3 separate regions of the Homo sapiens genome follow, and all the other regions are linked to region 2. Evidence: promoter capture Hi-C in 16 types of primary human blood cells and fetal thymus (Javierre and others, 2016). All regions are on one chromosome and are shown on one strand. The core of a region is centred on a gene start or on the middle of the fragment in contact, and the rest is flanking DNA. Distances in the headings are between cores, read along the strand shown.

Region 1 (3,658 bases), core at 540-3,039, 5.0 Mb before region 2:
CTAAACATTTAATGTATATGAATTAAACACAAATACTTAAAATTCAAAATAGAGCATTTTAGTAATTTTAAAATTATGTAAATCAAAATTAAACATGACTTTAAAAGTCAGTCATGTGCATTTGCATTTAAACTACTTTACAAATAATGTATTTTATTTAGACATCAAATAAATTTTAATCTTGTCAATTCTTGTATTCCTCAAAATACATTTCCTCAAATAGATCTTATTGGATACAAACTCAAGACACTGCTGCACAAATATGTCAGGGTTTTGGTTTAAGAAAATTCATTATAAAATTGGCAAAATAACTCAGTTTCTCTACCCATAAAGTTATTAGCCTTGATGAAACTGACATGAGTAGTCAGTGTTATCTAGTACTGTTGTTTACTACTCTCTCATGACTAAAGATGTCCAAATCATTTGATACTCCTGGAAAGAACCAAATTTGGTGGTTTTGGGGACCTTTGTAATGAGAGGAATTTTTAAATGTGATAAAGGACAGAAGCAATAAAAGACAAAACAAAAAATAAAAATAAGAAATAAAAAAACCCCAACTCAATTCTCTTTTAAAAGTTCACTTATCTCTCAGTACTTCACTTTTTCAGACATTCCACCCATTTTTACACATCCTTTACACTTTCCTCAGTATGGGTCAAATTCAGGCTAGTGACTTAAGAGGCCAAAAGCGTTTTAATTTTATTATGATAAATCTTAAAGCACCAAAATGAGAATTAAAAGTATCTTAAGCAAGTAGTAATTGATAGAAGCTTTCAATTACCCATCTAGTTTGTATAAACATTGAAAGTTTTATTTTGTAGTTCCTAGAATATGTAACTATATGATATGACATAATAGCTTACTGTAGTTCCATTGCTCAAGCTTCACTAAGAAACTGGGATGATTCAACAAGGTAATTCTAATTTCAGTCTTTCGGACCTATTTATTAACTTTCAACAAAAAGGTGAAAGATTTAAAAATTTTAAAAATTTACCTAAGTAAAGTTGATCTTTAGAAATAATGTTTTCCAAGCTGCTTTTGAAGACAGTTAAGTAGGCAGCTCTACAATTCATATAAAATATTTCCTCTTCAGTTAGTGGAAATTTCTTTGTTCGAGGACTCTCTGAAGGTGTTGATTTCTGACTGGAGAAAGTTGCATCGCTTCGTGGACTGATCGCCATTCTATTGGAAAATAATTTAAAAATGTGTTTGTCAATGTGAGTCACTAAAACACAAATGTCACCATGTCTTTCAAATACAGGGAGGAGAATCAAGATTTTATACATAGAAGAAAATTTATAACATATATGAAAAGATCAAGATATTAAAAGTTTTATATGTGGAAGTAAAAGACGAATACTATAGTTGTATATGGACGTATTATATATTAAACAAGAATAAGCCTTTGGCAGTTAATTTCTAATTTTAGATATATACATATGTATATATATAATTGTTCAAATATGTGATAATAGCCAAAAGAACAAAGATATACACAAGAGAAGAATCACTGAACAAAGGAAGAGCACACATCTATTCTCTCAAAATACGAAAGTCAGATGACAGTCTTCATCAGGTTTTTAAGAGGAGCAAATCAGTTAATACATGTGAAGCATATACAATATTGCTTGACACGTAGTAAGTGCTAAATAAACTGCAGATAATGAGAAACTCCAGAATAATGAGAATCGGGATATGAGTGGTAGTTGACACCCATCTTCCACAGCAGGATCAACAAGATCATTTCATTAACATCTCAATAATGCAGCCCCACATTTCAAATAGCTATATTTTAAAAGTCTTATTTATAGCATTATCATAGTTTTACTGTGTTCCTTTATTAATAACAATATTTGGGGTTTGTATAGCACCTCTGTACATAAGAGCTTAAAGAACTGTCATACATCTTGTCTTATCCCTATTACAGCGGTCAGGTATTTTTTTGTCCGTTTTACAGATGAGGAAATTGAGGGGTAGCAATGTCACCCAGCTAGCAGTAAGTGGCAAAAAGCCGTAAATTTCACGAACAGTTTCTTCTTTGTTAATGTGGATATAGTACTGAACAATGGTTACTATGGGGTATTAGATTCTACTGGTGGTCTAACAGCTTCCAATATTACTCTACCCAGCTTTGACTTCTAAAAATAGATCTCCAACCTAATAAATTGAATATTTCAAGTTCAATAATAAGATAACACAGGTAGGGTCCCCTTCAGGACTCATTGCATTCCTACTCAGGAGGCCTAAATCACTTGCACCTTTTCGAATTATATAGATCATTTACACTTGGGAAAGAAAGATAATAATTGCTTATCATGGATGAAGTACCCTATTTATAATACGCAGGCCGCCTGCCTGACACTTTCATATTACACCAGATTTAGAAGGACCCCACAGGGATGTGGTGTCACAGTCTGGTTACTGCAAATTGGTAATACTATAATTAAGCATCAGAGTTCTAAACACATATGTGTGCATGCATCTCCTCACAAATGTGAAAGAAAACTGTTTCAAGAAGTAAGGGAGAATGAATTTCACTTTGCAATAAGCAATTTTAAAATATAAGTATATTTTAGGATCGTCCTCAAATATTCTTTCCAAACAAGGCAACTCCCTCACATGGAAATCCCAAGGCAGAAATGTGCCAGAATTTTATTCTTTTCCTTTCTGTGACGAGAAACCAAACTAAAGCTTAAATAAACATATAATTGCACCCCCCGCAGGCTTGGAAACCTCCCTTACTTAAAACTCCGGCCCGAGACTGAGACAGGGGCCTAGAGAGTACATTGCAGCAAACGGCTCCATAAATAACCAGCCACACAATAGCAAGAAAAATAAACTGTTAACAAGCGCCTAAGGCTTCTACAGGGCCAAGTGAAAACAGAAAGCCGTCCAGTCACCGTCCCTACACAGTGAAATACCGTCACAGGTAATCTCGGGCACCATCTCTCTATTTTTGTATTCCTCTGGAAATAAAACCGCATTTACATGTACATTTTAGGTACATACATGGACCAAATGTTTATGACAGAGAAGTAGACAAAGCAGAGGAAGGAGAAGCAGCTGCACAGAGAGGGACAGAGGGAGCGAAGAGACAGAGACAGCGAGCTGTTTGCTACCTAATTCTAGCTCACAAACAAGGAAGCGCAGCCAATTCTCTTCGGCGATTCAGCGTTCCTCTCACCGCAGCTGGACAGATCTCGGCCTTTCTCTAATCACCATGGCAACTGCACCTCACCGCCACCGGAAATAAGATGCAGAGCCCTTCTCCAAACGATCCGGCTAGAAATCTAGGAAGCGCTGATCCGGAGCGCACAGAGACAGCTGTGTTGCTCCTCTATCGCGGGGGTGGTATGGCCAGAGTAGTGAGAGAAGGTGCTCTGTTACACCAGCAGGAAATAGGTGCTGTCCTGGGCCTAGAACTCCCCGCTCGCTCCTTTGCTCGCGCACACCCGGATCCTTCGTCGCGGGGAGGATGTTTCCGCCCGGCCGCGGTGGGCTTGACGCAACGTCCAGCGCGCGCTTTTCATGCCTTGGCGTTTCCTTTGGCGGATTTTCTGTTTTCGGAAGTTGCTGGGTTCGTTTTATTCAGCGGCAGTGGTGCTTTCCCGAATCTCAGAATGCCGTAGGTATCTCCTCCCCAGGTATTGCTGTTTTG
Region 2 (3,747 bases), core at 862-3,361:
TGGGCTTGATAATATCCATTGGGATAACAGGATCCTGAAGTAGTAGAAGCCAGGTGGTGGCTTTAACCATGAGGACACCAGAAGATGTAATTACTGTAACATCTGCCAAGGGCAGAGGAGCAGCCAAGGGGGCTTGATCCACAGGAGGTTGTGGAGGGCTTTAATAGCATAAGGTCTCCCTAGGGGAAAAACAGACGGGCAGCCAACAAGAGTGTTGCCTAACATCTACAACTGGAGGAAGACAAGAAGCTATTTATCCTATGCAGGGAGTAGTTGCTTAATAAAAGGCACTGCTCATTGCTCAAGTCTCAGACCTGAGCCTATCTTCACACTGAGACCACAGAATCTGTTGACTTAAGAGGTTGTTGGGTCCCTATAAAGAAGAATCCTGCAATACTGAAACAAATATTTACTGTAATTAATGATTACTCTTTGGTCTGTGTCCCACGGCCATTTTCTTGACTGATTTTATGTTGAGGAAAGAGGAATACCCAGACATTTCACAGGTGTTACCCAAAGTATGTAACACACATGGCTCCTCTCTAAGTGTGGGGGCTTATGGGGATCAGGTAATAAGCAGAGTCCTGGATAATGTCCAGCTTACAGTGGGTCCAGGAATACACTGACCCATCCAGTAGTCATTTTCTTAGTTCCTGAGTGCATAATTGGGAGTACATATTGGGCAGCTGGAGCAATCTCCACATTGGTAAGAAGCTCAGGGTCCTTGGTCTTGAGTTATCATGGTGGGGAAAGCCAATGGGAAGCCTCTGAAGCTGTCCTTCTTTCCAAGTGAAGATAATAAATCAAAACCGATATTTCATCTGAGGGGATAGTGAGATGATGGTGGAGATTAATGTCATAATTAAAGACCTGAAATATACAAGAGTGGTTGGTCATCCCTGCCATATCTCTACTTAACTTGCCAGTCTGGCCCCTTTGGAAATCAGGTGGACCCAGGATAATGACATAATGGCTCTGCGCAGTCCAAAAGGAGCTGGATCAACTGGAAATTCCAGAGAACATCACACCCATCTATTTCACCAATGACATTATGCTAACCAGGCAAGATGAGCAAGAGGTGGCTAGCATGCTGGAAACTTTGGTAAGACATGTGCACTCCAGAGTTTGGGAGATAAACCCTACGAAGACTGAAGGACCTCCTACTTCAGTTTTTAGGGGTCCAGTTGTCAGGGGTTTTCCAGGATATCCCTTTCAAAGTAAAAGGCAAATCATAAAATACACATAAGATAAACGAAACAGTAACTTACACATTTTCCAAAAGAGATACCTAAAATTGTTCATAGTGTTTATGTCCTTTGACATAGTGTTTATGTCCTTTGAGATGTTTTCATTGTGCACAGAGTGTAAACATAATAAACTAATATGAGACCTCACTACTCATCCATCACAATCCAGTGTTTATTTGTACTGGCTTATTTGTACACTTTTATTTATTTGTGTTTATTTGTACACTTTTTTTTAATCGCCTGTCTTTCCTCACTGTGATATAAAGTTCACGAAATTCAGGTCTGTCTTGTTCACTGCTACATCCTTGGCACTTAAAATGTAGTTGATGCTCAAGAAATATGTTTTGGTGAAATGAATGAAACATACTATACACATAATTTTGGAGCCAGCTACTTTAACCTCCAGACACTTAAGATTATACTTCATCTTTCTTAAAATGCGTCCCTCCAAAAATCATATGAAAGCACTGTTCCCATACTCCAAAGACTATTTCTATGAATGCAGATTCAGAACCAGGAAGCCTTCGTCTTTTGGCAGTCTTCGAGTCTCTTCCCTTTTGGCCGGTACTGCCGTAGAGACTACAACGGACACAGCCTTGCGTGGATCATTCTTTAGAGGACCCAACTCACCAAAGACGGGAGAAAGTTGTTCCTAGGCAAGCAGCCCAGCCCAGGGCCATGTCCCGCCTTAAGCCACACGGAGGCGCTAGAGCGCCACAGTCTCCGCGGGGCCCGGGGCAGCTGGGAGAACGACTCTGGGCGGCTGTATTGACTGCCGGGTGTGGGCGGAGCGAAGGGCGCCCCGGCCGGTATGGCGGGCAGGAAGTGCGGGTGCGCGCCTGCGCATAGGTCGGGTCTGCGGTGTCACCGCTTTCGCTTCTGCTTGAGTCAGTCCTCACGGTGACGCTTTTCCCCAGCTTTTCCGAGTAGGATCGTGCCCAGGGGAGGAGGCAGAGTGCGGCAGTGGGGAGGGGGCGGAGCGCAGAGCGCCTGCGGGGGCGCCCGGGCAAGGAGTGGGGATCCTTGGGGATGGGGGTACGGGAGGAGGCGTGGGTGGGCGATAAGGCTGCGTGGAGGGGAGGGGCGGGGGGCGCCGGGGCGGGAGACGGAGGGGATCTGTCCTGGGGGAGCCCGGTTCTCCCCTAGCCTTGCCCGGGGCACGCCGGTGACCCCGTGTGTCTGCCCCGTGGCAGTACTTTCGTGGGCCGCCTGCCCTCCCCCTCAGCCCGCCCTTATCCGCGGCTCCGCTTTCAGAGCAGGGTTTCTCACCCGCGGGGCTTCGGGCTCCTCACCCGGCACCTCTGCCAGAGGGGACCGCCTCCCGGCGCGTCGGGCATTCGTCTCTTTCACCCCTTCCCTCTTCAGGAGAAACTGAACACGTTTTCCAGCCTAAACTCGGCAGGGCAAACCAGAACATTCCCCGTCTAAGCAGTTCCGGGGAGTTTTAACAATTTCCTCGTAAACTCGTCTACAGAACTCACTGTATACTGTTTAAATGTCGCCTGTGTGTGGAGCAACAGTTTTATTGTGCCGTGCAATCCTCAACAAGAAATTGTAGTCCAGGGAGATGAAAATCCCTTATTTGGCATTCAGGCGTTGATCAAGGTCGTGCAACCCTCGCTAAAAGGATTTAGGTTCATCTCCGTCATTCTCAGCCGGGGTGAAGGGGTGTAGTCTGACATTTGGAAGCTTAAGAACCAAGTCTGCTGCCGTCCAATTCTTTTTTAAAGCCTTCCATCATGTGTGTACTTTGCTTGAATGATTATTTTAAAGTACATGTCCTATTTTTGCCAATCTGACAGCTGTTTCCATAGAAACTAGAGAAGAAATAGTCATTTTCAGCAAGAGTTGTTAAAACTGTCTTCCAGGCTTCAGCTGTGAGTGCCAGTGAGTGCTGCACTTGCTCATTCGGAGATGGTACTTAAAGAATTAAGGATCTGAAATGTTCGTAGAGGCTAACAATCCAAATTGTTTAATTTTCTCACATCATTAATTTTGTTATCCTAGAAGTCTGCCAGCTATGTTTGTTGACCTGCCACAGCTCTTTGAAGAGAATATGTCAGCCCTGATTTTTTTTTTTCTTATGTGCTCTGTAGTCTAGTGATTGGCTCCTTGAAAATGCATGAATAGATTTCTTCCCTCATTCTTTACCCTTTCTTCAGGATAAACCGGGTATTACAAAATATCAGGCACTGTTTCTATTCAAAACGACACTTGGTTGTCAGTGATAGAAATGATAATGGTTTTAATTATATATGCGTAGTGTTGGGGCTTTTGCTTATACCTTCTGTGTCAATAGGATTCTTTTAAAATTTTTACACAAGTCATGAGAAATGAGAAGGAGTTTGCTTGTCATGTGCAGAGCTAAGCAGTGTGAATAGATGTGCATAGACATAGAGATGAGAGCTTTCTTTTTCTGTGGGGTGTAAGTAAATCAGGGAGTTTGGAATTTAGGAATGGGTGAAGGAGGGTTGGGGAAGGTGCCTGGAGAAGTAGTAGG
Region 3 (3,661 bases), core at 1,162-3,661, 3.2 Mb before region 2:
ATAGCGGCGGGGCGCGGTGGCTCACGCCTGTATTCCAGCACTTTGGGAAGCCAAGGCGGGCGGATCACGAGGTCAGGAGTTCGAGACTAGCCTGACCAACATGGTGAAATCCTGTCTCTACTAAAAAATACAAAAATTAGCTGCGCGTGGTGGCGTGCGCCTGTAATCCCAGCTACTCAGGAGGCTGAGGCAGGAGAATTGCTTGACCCCGGGAGGCAGAGGTTGCAGTGAGCCAAGATCGTGCCACTGCACTCCAGCCTGGATGACAGAGCGAGACTCCATCTCAAAAAATAGCAGCGGGGCGTGGTGGTTCATGCCTGTAATCCCAGACCTTTGGGAGGCTCAGACGGGTGGATCACCTGAGGTCGGAAGTTGGAGACTAGCCTGATCAACATGGAGAAACCCCGTCTCTACTAAAAATACAAAATTAGCCAGGCGTGGTGACTCATGGCTGTAATTCCAGCTACTCAGGAGGCTGAGGTAGGAGAATAGCTTGAACCTGGGAAGTGGAGTTTGCAGTAAGCGAGAATCGTGCCATTGCACTCCAGCCTGGGCAACAAGAGCAAAACTCCCGTCTCAACTCCATTTCTGTCTCTAAATGAATGAATGAATAAAGCATAGTAATGCTACAAAGTTGTTTTATTATGAAAATTTTAGGGCCAGGCGCCGTGGCTCGCGCCTGTAATCCCAGCACTTTGGGAGGCAGAGGCGGGTGGATCACCTTAAGTCATGAGTTCGAGACCAGCCTGCTCAACATGGTGAAACCTCGTCTCTACTAAAAATACAAAAATTAGCTGGGCTGGTAGTGGGCGCCGTAATCCCAGCCTTTCCGGATGCTGAGACAGGAGAATAGCTTGAACCTGGGAGGCGGAGGTTGCAGTGAGCCGAGATCATGCCATTGCAGTCCAGCCTGGGCAACAACAGTGAAACTCCACCTCAAAAAAAGAAAATTTAAAAACGTAGTTTATGTTTAAATATTACTTCAAATAGTTGTATGTCTTCCAGAATATATATTCCAAAATGAGGCCAGGCACAGTGTGGCCTCACACCTGAAATCCCAGCACTTTAGGAGGCAGAGGCGGGCAGATCACTTAGGCCAGGAGTTCGAGACCAGCCTGGCCAAAATGGTGAAACCCTGTCTTTACTAAAAATACAAAAATTAGCTGAGCGTGGTGGCGCACGCGTGCAGTCCCAGCTACTCAGGAGGTTGAGGCAGGCGAATCACTTGAACCAGAAGGCAGAGGTTGCAGTGAGCTGAGATTCTGCCACTGTACTCCAGCCTGGGTGGCAGAGAGAGATTCCATCTTAAAAAAAAAAATTTACTTCTCGTAAAACATTATACCAGTGTTCTCAAAGTGGGGGTCCCTGGACTAGCAACACCCACATCCCTTGGGATCTCCTAGAAATGGAAATTATCCAGTCCCTCCCTACATCTTTTGTATCAGAAACTCTGAGTGCCGGTTCTATCATTCTGTTTTAATAACTACTACAGGTGATTCAGATGCTATTCAAAGTTTGAGAACCACCAAAGTTAGTGCTAAAGTATGGATGAAGAAGCACCACTCAAGTTCAAATTTTTATATTGTTAGACAAAAAAAAGATTAAACTTAACTTTACGAAAACATTTTTTCCTCACTGTTAAAGTTCCCCACCACAGAACTTTTAGAACATATAGAAATTTAAAAACAACAGATGGAGGAAAAAAAATCTTCAACTTTTCACTTAATCATAAACTATTTGGTTTCCTCTTGTTACAGTTTCCACCCCCCAAATTATCCCCCACCTAAATTGTCACTTTTTTTTTTTAAAAGGCGTAATGTCTCTCACAGTTTTTAAGTTCTGTTCGTGGCAGCCTTCCAAAATCCTTCTCTAAAGTTACAGGAGGACATTATGTCAATTAGTAAGAGCATAGATCTGAAATCTGGCAAACATCAATTTCATTCCGACTGAGTCACTTAGTGATTAAGGTCAGTGTGTTTCAGCGTCTTTGAGCCTTGTTCCTTATCTGTAAACCCAAAACCTATCAGGGCTAACTGCGATGATGTCAGGAAAGCATTGATTCCAACCTCTGACGCCGCTGGCACTTTCAGAGGACCGAGAAGCCTCAGCTAAGGGCGCGGGAATGAGAAGCGGGTGAAGCACCTGATTGCCTAAACCACTCGTTTCCTTCCTCCAGCACTCAAAGATTAACCTTAGCTCCTTCCAAGGGTTCGTGGGGGAAAATTCGCCTCGAGGGACTGGGTACATGCATATTTTAAAAGGGTCTCCCAATGTGATTCCACGGGCTCACGGGCAGAAGAACACGCGAAGAGACGGAACTGGCCTCTATCCTATGCGAGGTCCCTTTAAGAACCTCGCCCTGTTGCCCTTCTCCCTCCCGCTCCTGGGCGGAGGCGGAAGCGGAAGTGGCGAGAAAGTGTCGGTCTCCAAGATGGCGGCCGCCTGGCCGTCTGGTCCGTCTGCTCCGGAGGCCGTGACGGCCAGACTCGTTGGTGTCCTGTGGTTCGTCTCAGTCACTACAGGACCCTGGGGGGCTGTTGCCACCTCCGCCGGGGGCGAGGAGTCGCTTAAGTGCGAGGACCTCAAAGTGGGACAATATCCTCTGTGGAGAACACCCCCCCATGGAGGCGAGGTAGAGTTGGGGTCGCAGGTGGGTCGCTGCCGTCAGGACTGGCTAGGGCTGTACTGAGTGAAAACGATAATCTGATCTGTGGCTTCTAATGACTGAAGGATCCCTGAAGGTGAACAGAGTTGTGGAGATGGGAGGGCCAGAGGCCACCCTTTGTGATTTCCTTATGATTTTACTAGTCATTGGCGCTTCCTCTTCTGATCCACTTTTTTTTTCTTTTTTATCAGTGTGCTTACTTGTTCAGTAAAACATGTAGATCCTGAAGTATGCCAGGCCCCGTTCTAGACACTAGTAATACAAAGATGGATAGTCTCTTACCCTGGAAATGTTTGCCAACTCTTCCTAGGGGGAAGACAAGTAATAACGATCTAGCCAATGTGTTGCCCATTTATCATTAACTTTATGTATATTATGCATATTACCTCATGTCATCTTCAAACTTCATGAGATGGTAGACTGCCAGACAAATTTCTTTCTGTTTTCTTTTTTTGAGACAGGGTCTTACTCTGTCGCCCTGGCTGGAGTACAGTGGCACGATCTCAGCTCACTGCAGCCTCCGCCTCCCGGGTTCAGTCAATTCTCCTGCCTCAGCCTCCTGAGTAGCTGGGACTACAGGCATGCGCCACCACACCCGGGTAATTTTTGTATTTTTAGTAGAGACGGGGTTTACGCCATGTTGGCCAGGCTGGTCTTGAACTCCTGGTCTCAAGCGATCCGCATCCCCCTCACCATGAACCACCGCGTGGGGACTCAGTGGATAAATTTCTGTTGCACTTTGCAACCTTGGGTGACCTATTTGAACTCTGTTTTCTCATGAGTAAAAACGTGGATAATTATGGGGCAAATTTAAAGGTTTATTGTAATGTTTATGTATTATTATATTATTTGTAGAGACAGACTTCTCGTTATGTTGCCCAGGCTGTTCTTCCCAAACTCCTGGGCTCCAGTGATCCTCCTGCCTCAAGTATTACTTAGCAATACTAAAAGTATATTTGTACATATGCTTATTGACTTGGACAAACTAGCAGCCTC

What was found. Contacts are between HindIII fragments. The CHiCAGO score rates a contact against its expected background, and 5 or more counts as called.
Region 1: a fragment that was not itself captured here is called in contact with the fragment with the promoter of OMA1 in region 2 in 1 of 17 cell types (total B cells); the score reaches 6.5 in total B cells.
Region 3: a contact is called between the fragment with the promoter of TM2D1 here and the fragment with the promoter of OMA1 in region 2, in 1 of 17 cell types (total B cells). The highest score is 5.1, in total B cells.

Annotation. Positions count from the first base shown.
Region 1 is chr1:63,523,096-63,526,753 of GRCh38, reverse strand. It overlaps EFCAB7 (EF-hand calcium binding domain 7), which reads right to left and starts at 3,229. Exons shown (of 14, transcript NM_032437.4): 1 at 3,120-3,229; 2 at 995-1,182. The coding sequence starts at 1,181. It overlaps ITGB3BP (integrin subunit beta 3 binding protein), which reads left to right and starts at 3,529. Exons shown (of 9, transcript NM_014288.5): 1 at 3,529-3,625. The coding sequence starts at 3,621. RefSeq lists enhancers at 3,266-3,345, 3,507-3,658. The HindIII fragment of the contact is 1,809 bases long and covers 885-2,693 here.
Region 2 is chr1:58,545,090-58,548,836 of GRCh38, reverse strand. OMA1 (OMA1 zinc metallopeptidase) reads left to right here and starts at 2,111. Exons shown (of 9, transcript NM_145243.5): 1 at 2,111-2,134. It also overlaps a transcript of DAB1 not described here. RefSeq lists enhancers at 1,673-1,862, 2,076-2,702 and silencers at 2,263-2,362, 2,373-2,462. The HindIII fragment of the contact is 5,811 bases long and covers 1-2,938 here.
Region 3 is chr1:61,723,891-61,727,551 of GRCh38, reverse strand. TM2D1 (TM2 domain containing 1) reads left to right here and starts at 2,411. Exons shown (of 7, transcript NM_032027.3): 1 at 2,411-2,595. The coding sequence starts at 2,432. RefSeq lists enhancers at 1,736-2,421, 2,070-2,729, 1,766-2,965, 2,422-3,109. The HindIII fragment of the contact is 25,050 bases long and covers 1-3,661 here.